Linked DNA regions of Homo sapiens: region 2 is linked to region 1. The links are contacts of gene promoters, found by promoter capture Hi-C in human tissues and cell types (Jung and others, 2019). All regions are on one chromosome and are shown on one strand. Each heading gives the region's core, a stretch centred on a gene start or on the middle of the fragment in contact. The rest is flanking DNA. Distances are from core to core; before and after follow the strand shown. Region 1 holds the start of CDC14A (cell division cycle 14A). Region 2 overlaps DBT (dihydrolipoamide branched chain transacylase E2).

What was found. Contacts are between HindIII fragments. The study calls those that stand out against the background at their distance.
Region 2: a fragment that was not itself captured here is called in contact with the fragment with the promoter of CDC14A in region 1 in 1 of the 25 tissues and cell types used here (aorta).

Annotation. Positions count from the first base shown.
Region 1 is chr1:100,349,016-100,354,577 of GRCh38, reverse strand. It overlaps CDC14A (cell division cycle 14A), which reads right to left and starts at 2,072. Exons shown (of 16, transcript NM_003672.4): 1 at 1,575-2,072; 2 at 726-816. The coding sequence starts at 1,623. RefSeq lists enhancers at 946-1,195, 1,236-1,545, 2,796-2,845, 2,886-3,315 and silencers at 2,126-2,175, 2,206-2,295. The HindIII fragment of the contact is 17,975 bases long and covers 1-5,562 here.
Region 2 is chr1:100,200,749-100,205,992 of GRCh38, reverse strand. All of the region lies in intron 10 of DBT (dihydrolipoamide branched chain transacylase E2), which reads left to right. Among named protein-coding and RNA genes, the nearest start is that of LRRC39, 25 kb to the right of the region's middle. RefSeq lists an enhancer at 5,059-5,244. The HindIII fragment of the contact is 5,861 bases long and covers 1-4,741 here.

The DNA.
Region 1 (5,562 bases), core at 823-3,322:
TATTAAGATATCTTTTTCCTGTAGATCAGTGGTCTTTCACAGAAAACAGTTCCCTACTTTTATTTTACACTCTCAAATCCTAATCCCACAGAAGCAAAGTAATCAAAGAAAATAAATCAGCACTGCTATATCATTTCCTTAGAAGCAAAGAAAATAATATCAAAAAGTTTGGGGTACCCAAATAAAAGAATCAATAATATGTCAGATAAAATGTTAGTCATAAATGTGACTCTGATACAGCTCCCCGCAGTTAATGTGTCCCACTTTCTGAAAAAGAGCTGCACAAACAAAAACATCCTGAGATAGAACAGAAGTCTTGTAAACTATAAAGCTCAAGCACCTGTAATACATGCACTGCCCTGTACCCTATGGCCACTCCATAAATACTTAGTGACTGATTCACAGGCCAATTACTGAGTCTGGCAATGACAGTGTGTCTCCCTGGTCCTACTCTGGGGAATGTTAGGAATCTCCAGTTGCTGTTTGTTGTGGTGGTAGGAAGAACTAAAACAGATAGATGTCTAAAAGAACTGAAGTGTTGAAAGGTTCAAATTCTGTCAATTTTCTCTGAACTTCTCCCCAGGCACCTGAGTCTTAAAAAATTGATATTGTTACTCGTATCATTGGGGGGGAAATGAATAAAACTGCCATAAAAGTGCATAGTGTTTCCTCGTCAAAGAACAAGCTGAATGGCCAAGAGAAAAAAAAACAAAACATAAACTTACTTTTCATAGACCAGCTCCTCATCGATGGAGAAATAGTGGGTATTTACTGTGCTTTTTGGTCTATTCCTTAAAGTAGCAAAATATAACCGATCTGAAAGACAAGTTTAAAAGACAGAAAAAACATATGAGAAGTAGAGAAGTGGAAGTGAAGGTGGGTGGTAACATACGAAGGATCACAATTTAAAGACCCCATTAACACGTGGAATTCTTGCAGAAACCTCATCCCTCCCAGAAAGCTAGAGACTCAAGAGCACAACAGTTAGGCAAGAGGAGGACCTGACCGAGGAACTCAGCGGGGCTCAGAGCACCCACATTTCCCTTGTTTCAGGCCAGCAGAGTAGGCAGGAGCTGGGGGTACCCGCAGAACTGGAGGTGCAAGTTTGGTTCCCAAATCTCCAGACCTCAGCAGCTGCGAGAAGGGGAAGAAAGAGGTGAGCCTCCCGACGCAGCTTCGGAGATTTGAAAAAGAGGAAGGGAGAGAGACTTGGGGGGTGTGGTTGGGGGTGTCCCGAAAACCGAAGCCTGCGATGGTGGAGTAAAGGTGACCGGTGAGCATCCGGAGCAGGCTCCCCATGAGCTGCTGAGTGCCGGAGTACGGGCAGAAGCCGGTGCTGTCCCATTACGAGGCCGAGAGGCCATCCGAGGGAGCTGCAGAGGGAGCAAGGGACACAAGAAAGAGAAGCCGGAAGCAGGGGGTCCTCGGAGAAAGGAGAGTCCCTAGAGGGGACGAGAGCGCGCGCAGCGGCTGCAGGACACTGGCAGCCTCAGGAGAAGGTGGGGACAGTGGCGCGGGAAGTGAAGAGTTGGGGGCAAGAAAGCGTTGGAAGATGCGGGGCGGCTGCTCCTCACCTTTCATGAACTCACAAGCCCCGATTAGTTCCCCTGACTCCGCTGCCATCTTAAGCGAGATACGCACGGGGGAGGGCTGGGTCGTGGCCAGCTGAAGTCACTCGCCCCCGGGGGCTTCCCCACTGCCCAGGAGCCAGGAAGCTCACAGTCCCGAACAACAAGCCTGGCCGAGGGAGGCAGCAGGCGCCGAAGGCGGAGGCGGCTTCGGGGTCAGCGCGCCGGGCGCCCCGGGGACATTCCGAGGGGAACCCGAGCTCGCTCCGCGCGGGGCGCTCACGCCCCTGGCTGTGGCCGCTCCTATTTGGACTCGGCTGCTGCAGCTGCTGCTCCGCCGCCGCCGCGCCTGGGAAACGCAGACCAGCTCTCAGGGCAGGGCAAAGTCTTCCCCCGGCTTCCAAAGTGATCATGGAGGAGGAGACTTCTGGTCCCGATCGCGCCCGTGGCTACTCGAGCGGCAGCCGGGAGGACTTCAGTGCCCGCGGGCTGGCAGCAGCTGCTCCGGATCCTCCTTCGCCACCTCCTTTCAGCAGTTACTCTTCCTCCTCCTCCTCCCCCTGGGTCCGCCCCCAGACCTTCCTCCCCGCCCTCCCTCAGCCCCCTCCACTTTCACGACTCCGCGGCCATCCCTTAAAGGGACAGCCCCGCTCCTTTCTCCGCAGCAGCCCCAGTTACCAGGCGCCCCGCGGGTCACTAGGAGCCGGTTGCTAAGGCTTTGTTGCCGTCCACCAATTGCTGTTCAGGAAACGGGGCCCTCGGCCCAGGGGAGCGGGCGGGGCCTGTAGGCCAGAAACTTATGAATGAAACGGCGGGGTTGAGAGTGGACATCGCCAAAGGCGCTGTCGCGGCCTCGGAGGCTAGGATGTGCTGGCGCCCCCTTTCTTTTCTGCACCCTCTAAGTCTTGTCCCACTCCAGATTTCTTTTCTCTCTCTCTCTCATTCTCTTTCTTTCTCGCCCACTCACCCATGCTCTTCTAAACTCTTGTAGGGCGCGCGCGCGCGCACACACACACACACACACACACACACACACTCGTAAAAACCTCAGATCTCCGTGCCCTGCCTCGCCTCTAGCTAACATTTCAGCCACCCCCCACGCCCAACACTGAGGGGGTCTGCATCTTTATAAAAAATACAATTGAAAAAGAAGCACCAGCTCCTAGCTCACAGTACATGTATTGGTTTCCTCTACACATACCAGACTCTGATATAACTTGTACTTTGTTCTCACGGGACAAAAAGTTTCCCATCTGGTTCTCCACGCCCTCTCATCTGGGCCGCCAATGTGAGCGCAAAAGCATCACAGATGCCTAATCTTTACAGTGCTCCGGTCCCGGAGGGGCGGGGCGAGACCGCTGAGCCAGCCTGGGCGGGCGCGGAGGGAACAGGAGAGAGAGGAGAGTCCACTGGTCCAAGGAGGAAGGTTAACACAAAGGAATTTCTTTACATAGTCTCAGCTGAAGCGCTCCAGGCAGGAGTCCCGCTAAAAGAGGCCATTGACTTGTCTCTGCGAGGCTCTACGTACTGTTTGAACAACTTGAACGCTGGGCGTCCTAAGGCTGTACCTAATCAGAGTGCAGTCCCTTCCATACGAAAATGGCGCTACAGACCGACTATCCGAAGAGCATGCGCTCTGAGAGGTCTCTCCAGAAACAGCAAGAAACTTGTGGCGGCGTTTTCCTTCGCAGTCGCTTGTTGACCTCTAGGGAGAAAGGGGGCGCACCCGTGCAGAGCTGACTGAGGGAACCAGCCCTTCGAGGGCCAATTGCAGGTTTTGTTTGTGGTTTTTTTTTTTTTAATGTGTGTTTTGTTTTAGACAGGGTCTCGCTCTGTCACCCAGGCCGGAGTGCGGTGGCTCAATCTCTGCTCACTGCAATCTCCACCTCCCGAGTACAAGCGATTCTCGTGCCTCATTCTCCCAAATAGTTGGATCTACAGGCGTGCGCCACCACACCCGGCTAATTTTTGTATTTTTTGTAGAGACCGGGTTTTGCCATGTTGGCCAGGCTCGTCTCCAGTTCCTGAGCACAAGCAATCCGCCCTGCCTTGGCCTGCCACAGCGCTGGGATTACAGGCTGAGCCACCGCGCCAGGCCTCAAATTATTTTATTGAAAAAAAATCTAGTATTTCTTATATGAAAGATAGGGAAAAACAAAGTATATGAATCTCTCGATAAACTTGCCCACTTTGTTTAAAAGGCTAAATAAATCCAAAGATGTTGTTGTATTTCCGAAGATGCTGATTTAAAATTCTTGCATAATCTAAATTCAAATTCCCCAACAATTTTTCATTAAAAAGTGCGTTAGAAATAGAAGTCAGAGTTCTCATTCAGTTCATAAACTTTTAATTGCACAAAGTAAATAGTCTAATGAACTCCAATCTACACTTTCAGAGAAGCCAGATATAGTTGAACACCTTCTTGTTATTTTCCAAAATGAATTTACAAAAATCTTTTATATAACTCTCCTGCTTAAAATTGTGATCATGAGGAATGAATTATGACCTAACAAATACAAGTCCTTAAATTCAAATGAAAATGTTTATTTTTCCTTAGCATTTTTACAAAGATAATAAAACTCTGTAAGTAATTAATGTTTTTTAAAATATTGCATGGGGCTGGTCATGGTGGCTCACACCTGTAATTACAGCACTTTGGGAGGCCAAGGCCTGCGGATCACCTGAGGTCAGGAGTTCAAGACCATCCTGGCCAACATGGCGAAACCTTGCCTCTACTTAAAAAAATACAAAACTTGTCTGGGCGCGGTGGCTCATGCCTGTAATCCCAGCACTTGGGGAGGCCGAGGCAGGTGGATCACCTGAGGGCAGGAGTTCGAGACCAGCCTGGCCAACATGGTGAAACCCCCAACTCTACTAATAATACAAAAAAATTAGCCAGGAATGGTGGCACACACCTGTAATCCCAGCTACTAGGGAGGCTGAGGCAGAAGAATGGCTTGAACCTGGGAGGCGGAGGTTGCAGTGAGCCAAGATCGCATCATTGTGCTACAGCCTGGGTGACGAGCAAAACTATGTTTCAAAAAAAAAAAAATACAAAACTTAGCCGGGTGTGGTGGCACACGCCTGTAATCCCAGCTACTCGGGAGGTTGCAGTGAGCCGAGATAGTGCCACGGCACTCCAGCCTGGGCGACAGAGAAAGACCCCGTCTCAAAAAAAAATTAGCCAGATGTGGTGGCGGGCACCTGCAATCCCAGCTACTCATGAGGCCGAGGCGGGAGAATGGCTTGAACCGGGAGGCAGAGGTTTCAGTGAGCTGTGATTACGTGATTATGCCACTGCACTCCAGCAGTGCAGTGTCTCTGGGTGACAGAGTGAGACCCTGTCTCAAACAAACAACAACAAAATTGCATGGAAGGAAGTGTCAGTATAATCAAATCTCTCTAAGCCATTCTAAATGGTATAGAAAATTCTACAAGAAAAATATGAACTAGATAATGCACACACAGCACACGTATAATACATACCAAGGTTCTAATGAGATCATAAAAACACTTTATTCTCTCAGTTATCCTGAGGTCAAAGTTCCTGTTGGTTGTAGTTTCATAATAAAGGCATACTTTTACAGTCTACAAGGGAAGATAATGGAAGAAAATTTTCCAACCACGAAACTTGATATAAACTTAAGGAATGGACTTTTAAGAAACAATAAAGGCGTTTCACATATAAAGGAAATACTAAGAGAGTTTACATATCGCTCAACTGCACAAAAGGAAGGTAATATTACACACAGAAATTCAGCAGGTAAGTGTAAAAAGTGTCGAGTTTGAAAACAACGCCTTTTTTTTTTTTCTCTAGACGGAGTCTTGCTCTGTAGCCCAGGCTGGAGTGCAGTGGCACCATCTGGGCTCATTGCAACCTCCACCTCCCGGGTTCAAGCGATTCTACTGCCACAGCCTCCAGAGTAGCTGGGACTACAGGCATGTGCGCCACCACGCCGGTTAATTTTCATATTTTTGGTAGAGACAGGATTTC
Region 2 (5,244 bases), core at 562-3,061, 150 kb after region 1:
CCATCAACCCGTCATCTACATTAGGTATTTCTTCTAGTGATATTCCTCCCCTAGCCCCAGACCCCACGACAGGTCCCCAGTGTATGGTGTTCCCCACCCTCTGTCCATGTGTTCTCATTTTTCAACTCCCACTTATGAGTGAGAACATGCAGTGTTTGGTTTTCTGGTTTCCAGCTTCATCCATGACCCTGCAAAGGACATGAACTCACTCTTTTTTATGGCTGCATAGTATTCCATGGTGTATATGTGCCACATTTTCTTTATCCAGTCTAACTAACATTGATGGACATTTGGGTTGGTTCCAAGTCTTTGCTATTGTGAATAGTGCTGCAATAAACATACATGTGCATGTGTCTTTATAGTAGCATGATTTATAATCCTTTGGGTATATACTCAGTAATGGGATTGCTGGGTCAAATGGTATTTCTGGTTCTAGATCCTTGAGGAATCGCCACACTGTCTTCCACAATGGTTGAACTCATTTACACTCCCACCAACAGTGTAAAAGCGTTTCTATCTCTCTATATTCTCTCCAGCATCTGTTATTTCCTGCCTTTTTAATGATTGCCATTGTAACTGGCATGGTATCTCATTGTAGTTTTGATTTGCATTTCTCTAATGACCAGTGATCATGGGCTTTTTTTCATATGTTTGTTGGCCATATAAATGTCTTCTTTTGAAAAGTGTCTGTTCATATCCTTCGCCCACTTTATGATGGGTTGTTTGTTTTTTTCTTGTAAATTTGTTTAAGTTCCATGTAGATTCTGGATATTAGCCCTTTGTCAGATAGATAGATTGCAAAAATGTTCTCCCATTCTGTAGGTTGCCTGTTCTCTCTGATGATAGTTTCTTTTGCTGTGCAGAAGCTCTTTAGTTTCATTACATCTGATTTGTCAATTTTGGCTTTGTTGCAATTGCTTTTGGTGATTTAGTCATGAAGTCTTTGCCTATGCCTATGTCCTAAATGGTATTGCCTAGGTTTTCTTCTAGGGTTTTTATGGTTTTAGGTCTTACATTTCAGTCTTTAATCCATCTTGAGTTAATTTTTGTATAAGGTGTAAGGAAGGGGTCCAGTTTCAGTTTTCTGCATATGGCTAGCCAGTTGTCCCAACACCATTTATTAAATAGGGAATCCTTTCCGCATTGCTTGTTTTTGTCAGGTTTGTCAAAGATCAGATGGGTTGTAGATGTGTGGTGTTATTTCTGAGGCCCCTGTGCGGTTCCATTGGTCTATCTCTCTGTTTTGGTACCATTACCATGCTGTTTTGGTTACTGTAGCCTTGTAGTATAGTTTGAGGTCAGGTAGCATGATGCCTCCAGCTTCCTTCTTTTTGTTTAGGATTATCTTGGCTATGTGGGCTTTTTTTTTGGTTCCATATAAAATTTAAAGTAGTTTTTTCTAATTCTGTGAAGAAAGTCAATGGTAGCTTGATGGGAATAGCATTGAATCTATAAATTACTTTGGGCAGTTTGGCCATTTTCACAATATTGATTCTTCCTATCCATGAGCATGGAATGTTTTTCCATTTGTTTGTGTCCCCTTGTATTTCCTTGAGCAGTGGTTTGTAATTCTCCTTGAAGAGGTCCCTCACATCCCTTGTAAGTTGGATTCCTAGGTATTTTATTCTCTTTATAGCAATTGTGAATGGGAGTTTCCTCATGATTTGGCTCTCTGTTTGTCTGTTATTGGTGTATAGGAATGCTTGTGATTTTTGCACATTGATTTTGTATCCTGAGACTTTGCTGAAGTTGCTTATCAGCTTAAGGAGATTTTGGGCTGAGCCGATGGGGTTTTCTAAATATACAATCATGTCATCTGCAGACAGAGATAATTTGACTTCCTCTCTTCCTATAGAATATGCTTTATTTCTTTCTCTTGTCTGATTGCCCTGGCCAGAACTTCCAATACTATGTTGAATAGGAGTGGTGAGAGAGAGGGCATCCTTGTCTTGTGCCAGTTTTCAGAGGGAATGCTTCCAGCTTTTGCCCATTCAGTATAATATTGGCTGTGGGTTTATCATAAATAGCTCTTATTATTTTGAGATATGTTCCATCAATACCTAATTTATTGAGTGTTTTTAGCATGAAGGGGTGTTAAATTTTATCCAAGGCCTTTTCTGCATCAATTGAGATAATCATGTGGTTTTTGTCATTGGTTCTGTTCATGTGATGGATTATGTTTATTGATTTGCACATGTTGAACCAGCCTTGCATCCTAGGGATGAAGCCGACTTGATTGTGATGGATAAGCTTTGTAATATGCTGCTGGATTCGGTTTGCCAGTGTTTTATTGAGGATTTTGGCATTGATGTTCATCAGGGATATTGGCCTGAAATTTTCTTTTTGTGTGTGTGTCTCTGCCAGGTTTTGGTATCAGGATGATGCTGGCCTCATAAAATGAGTTAGGGAGGATTCCCTTTTTTTCTGTTGTTTGGAATAGTTTCAGAAGGAATGGTACCAGCTCCTCTTTGTACCTCTGGTAGAATTTGGCTGTTAATCTATCTGGTCCTGGGCTTTGTTTGGTTGGTAGGCTATTAATTACTACCTCAGTTTCAGAACTTGTTATTGGTCTATTCAGGGAGTCGACTTTTTCCTGATTTAGTCTTGGGAGGGTGTATGCGTCCAGCAATTTATCCATTTCTTCTAGATTTTCTAGTTTATATGTGAAGAGGTGTTTATAGGATTCTCTGATGGTAGTTTGTATTTCTGTGAGATCAGTGGTGATATCCCCTTTATCATTTTTTATTGTGTCTATTTGATTCTTCTCTCTTTTCTTCTTTATTAGTCCAGCTAGCAGTCCATCAATTTTGTTAATCTTTTCAAAAAACCGGCTCCTGGATTCATTGATTTTTTTGAAGGGTTTTTTTGTGTCTCTGTCTCCTTCAGTTCTGCTCTGATCTTGTTTATTTCTTGTCTTCTGCTAGCTTTTGAACGTGTTTGCTCTTGCTTCTCTAGTTCTTTTAACTGTGATGTTAGGGTGTTGATTTTAGATCTTTCCTGCTTTCTTCTGTTGGCATTTATTTCTGTGGGAAATTTATAGTGCTATAAATTTCCCTCTACACATACTTTAGCTGTGTTCCAGAGATTCTGGTACGTTGTGTCTTTGTTCTCATTGGTTTCAAAGAACATCTTTATTTCTGCCTTCATTTCATTATTTACCCAGCAGTCATTCAAGAGCAAGTTATTTAGTTTCCATGTAGTTGTGTGGTTTTGAGTGAGTTTCTTAACCCTGAGTTCTAATTTGATTGCACTGTGGTCTGAGAGACTGCTTGTTATTGTTTCCATTCTTTTGCATTTGCTGAGGAGAGTTTTACTTCCAATTGTGTGTACGATTTTAGAATTAGTGCTATGTGGTGCTGAGAAGAATGTATATTCTGTTGATTTGGGGTGGAGAGTTCTGTCGATGTCTATTAGGTCCGCTTGGTCCAGAGCTGAGTTCAAGTCCTGAAGATGCTTGTTAATCTTCTGTCTCATTGTTCTGTCTAATGTCTAATGTTCTGTCTAATGTTGACAGTGGGGTGTTAAAGTCTCCCATTATTATTGTGTGGAAATCTAAGTCTCTTTGCCAGTCTCTAAGAACTTGCTTTATGAATCTGGATGCTCCTGTATTGGGTGCATATATATTTAGGATAGTTAGCTATTCTTGTTGCATTGATCCCTTTACCATTATGTAATGCCCTTGTCTTTTTTTTATCTTTGTTGGTTTAAAGTCTGTTTTATCAGAGACTAGGATTGCAACCCCTGCTTTTTCTTTTTTTTTGCTTTCCACTTGCTTGGTAAATCTTCCTCCATCCCTGTATTTTGAGCCTATGTGTGTCTTTGCACATGAGATGGGTCTCCTGAATACAGCACATTGATGGGTCTTGACTCTTTATCCAGTTTGCCAATCTGTGTCTTTTAATTGAGGCATTTAGCCCATTTACATTTGAAGTTAATATTGTTATATGCAAATTTGATCCTGTCATTATGATGACAGCTGGTTATTTTGCCTGTTAGTTGATGCAGTTTCTTCATAGTGTCGATGGTCTTTACATTTTGGGTTGCTTTTGCAGTGGCTGCTACCAGTTGTTCCTTTCCATGTTTAGTGCTTCCTTCAGGAGCTCTTGTAGGGCAGGCCTGGTGGTGACAAAATCTGTCAGCATTTGCTTGTCTCTAAAGGATTTTATTTCTCCTCCACTTATGAAGCTTAGTTTAGCTGGATATGAAATTCTGGGGTGAAAATTCTTTTCTTTAAGAGTGTTCAATATTGGCCCCCACACTCTTCTGGCTTGTAGAGTTTCTGCCGAGAGATCCACTGTTAGTCTGATGGGCTTCCCTTTGTGGGTAACCCGACCTTTGTCTCTGGTTGCCCTTAACATTTTTTTCCTTCATTTCAACCTTGGTGAATCTGACAATTATGGATCTTGGGGTTGCTCTTCTCGAGGAGTATCTTTGTGGTGTTTTCTGTATTTCCTGAATTTGAATGTTGGCCTATCTTGCTAGTTCGGGGAAGTTTTCCTGAATAGTATCCTGAAGTGTGTTTTCCAACTTGTTTCCATTCTCCCTGTCATTTTCAGGTACACCAATCAAACGTAGTTTTGGTCTTTTTCACATAGTCTCATATTTCTTGAGGCTTTGTTCCTTCCTTCTCATTCTTTTTTCTCTAATCTTGTCTTCATGCTTTATTTCATAAAGTTGATCTTCAATCTCTGATATCCTTTCTTCCGCTTGATCGATTCAGCTATTGATACTTGTGTATGCTTCACGAAGTTCTCATGCTGTGTTTTTCACCTCCATCAGGTCATTTATGTTCTTCTCTAAACTGGTTATTCTAGTTAGCAATTCCTCTAACCTTTTATCAAGGTTCCTAGCTTCCTTGCATTGGGTTAGAACATGCTCCTTTAGCTCGGAGGAGTTTGTTATTACCTGAAGCCTACTTGTGTCAGTTCATCAAACTCATTCTCTGTCCAGTTTTGTTCCCTTGCTGGCGAGGAGTTGTGATCCTTTGGAGGAGAAGAGGCGTCCTGGTTTTTGGCATTTTCAGCCTTTTTATGCTGGTTTTTCCTCATCTTTATGGATTTATCTACCTTTGATCTTTGCTGTTGGTGACCTTTGGATGGAGTTTTTGCATGGTCGTCCTTTTTGTTGATGTTGATACTATTCCTTTCTGTTTGTTAGTTTTTCTTCTAACAGTCAGGCCCCTCTTCTGCAGGTCTGCTGGAGTTTGCTGGGGGTCCATTCCAGACCCTGTTTGCCTGGGTATCA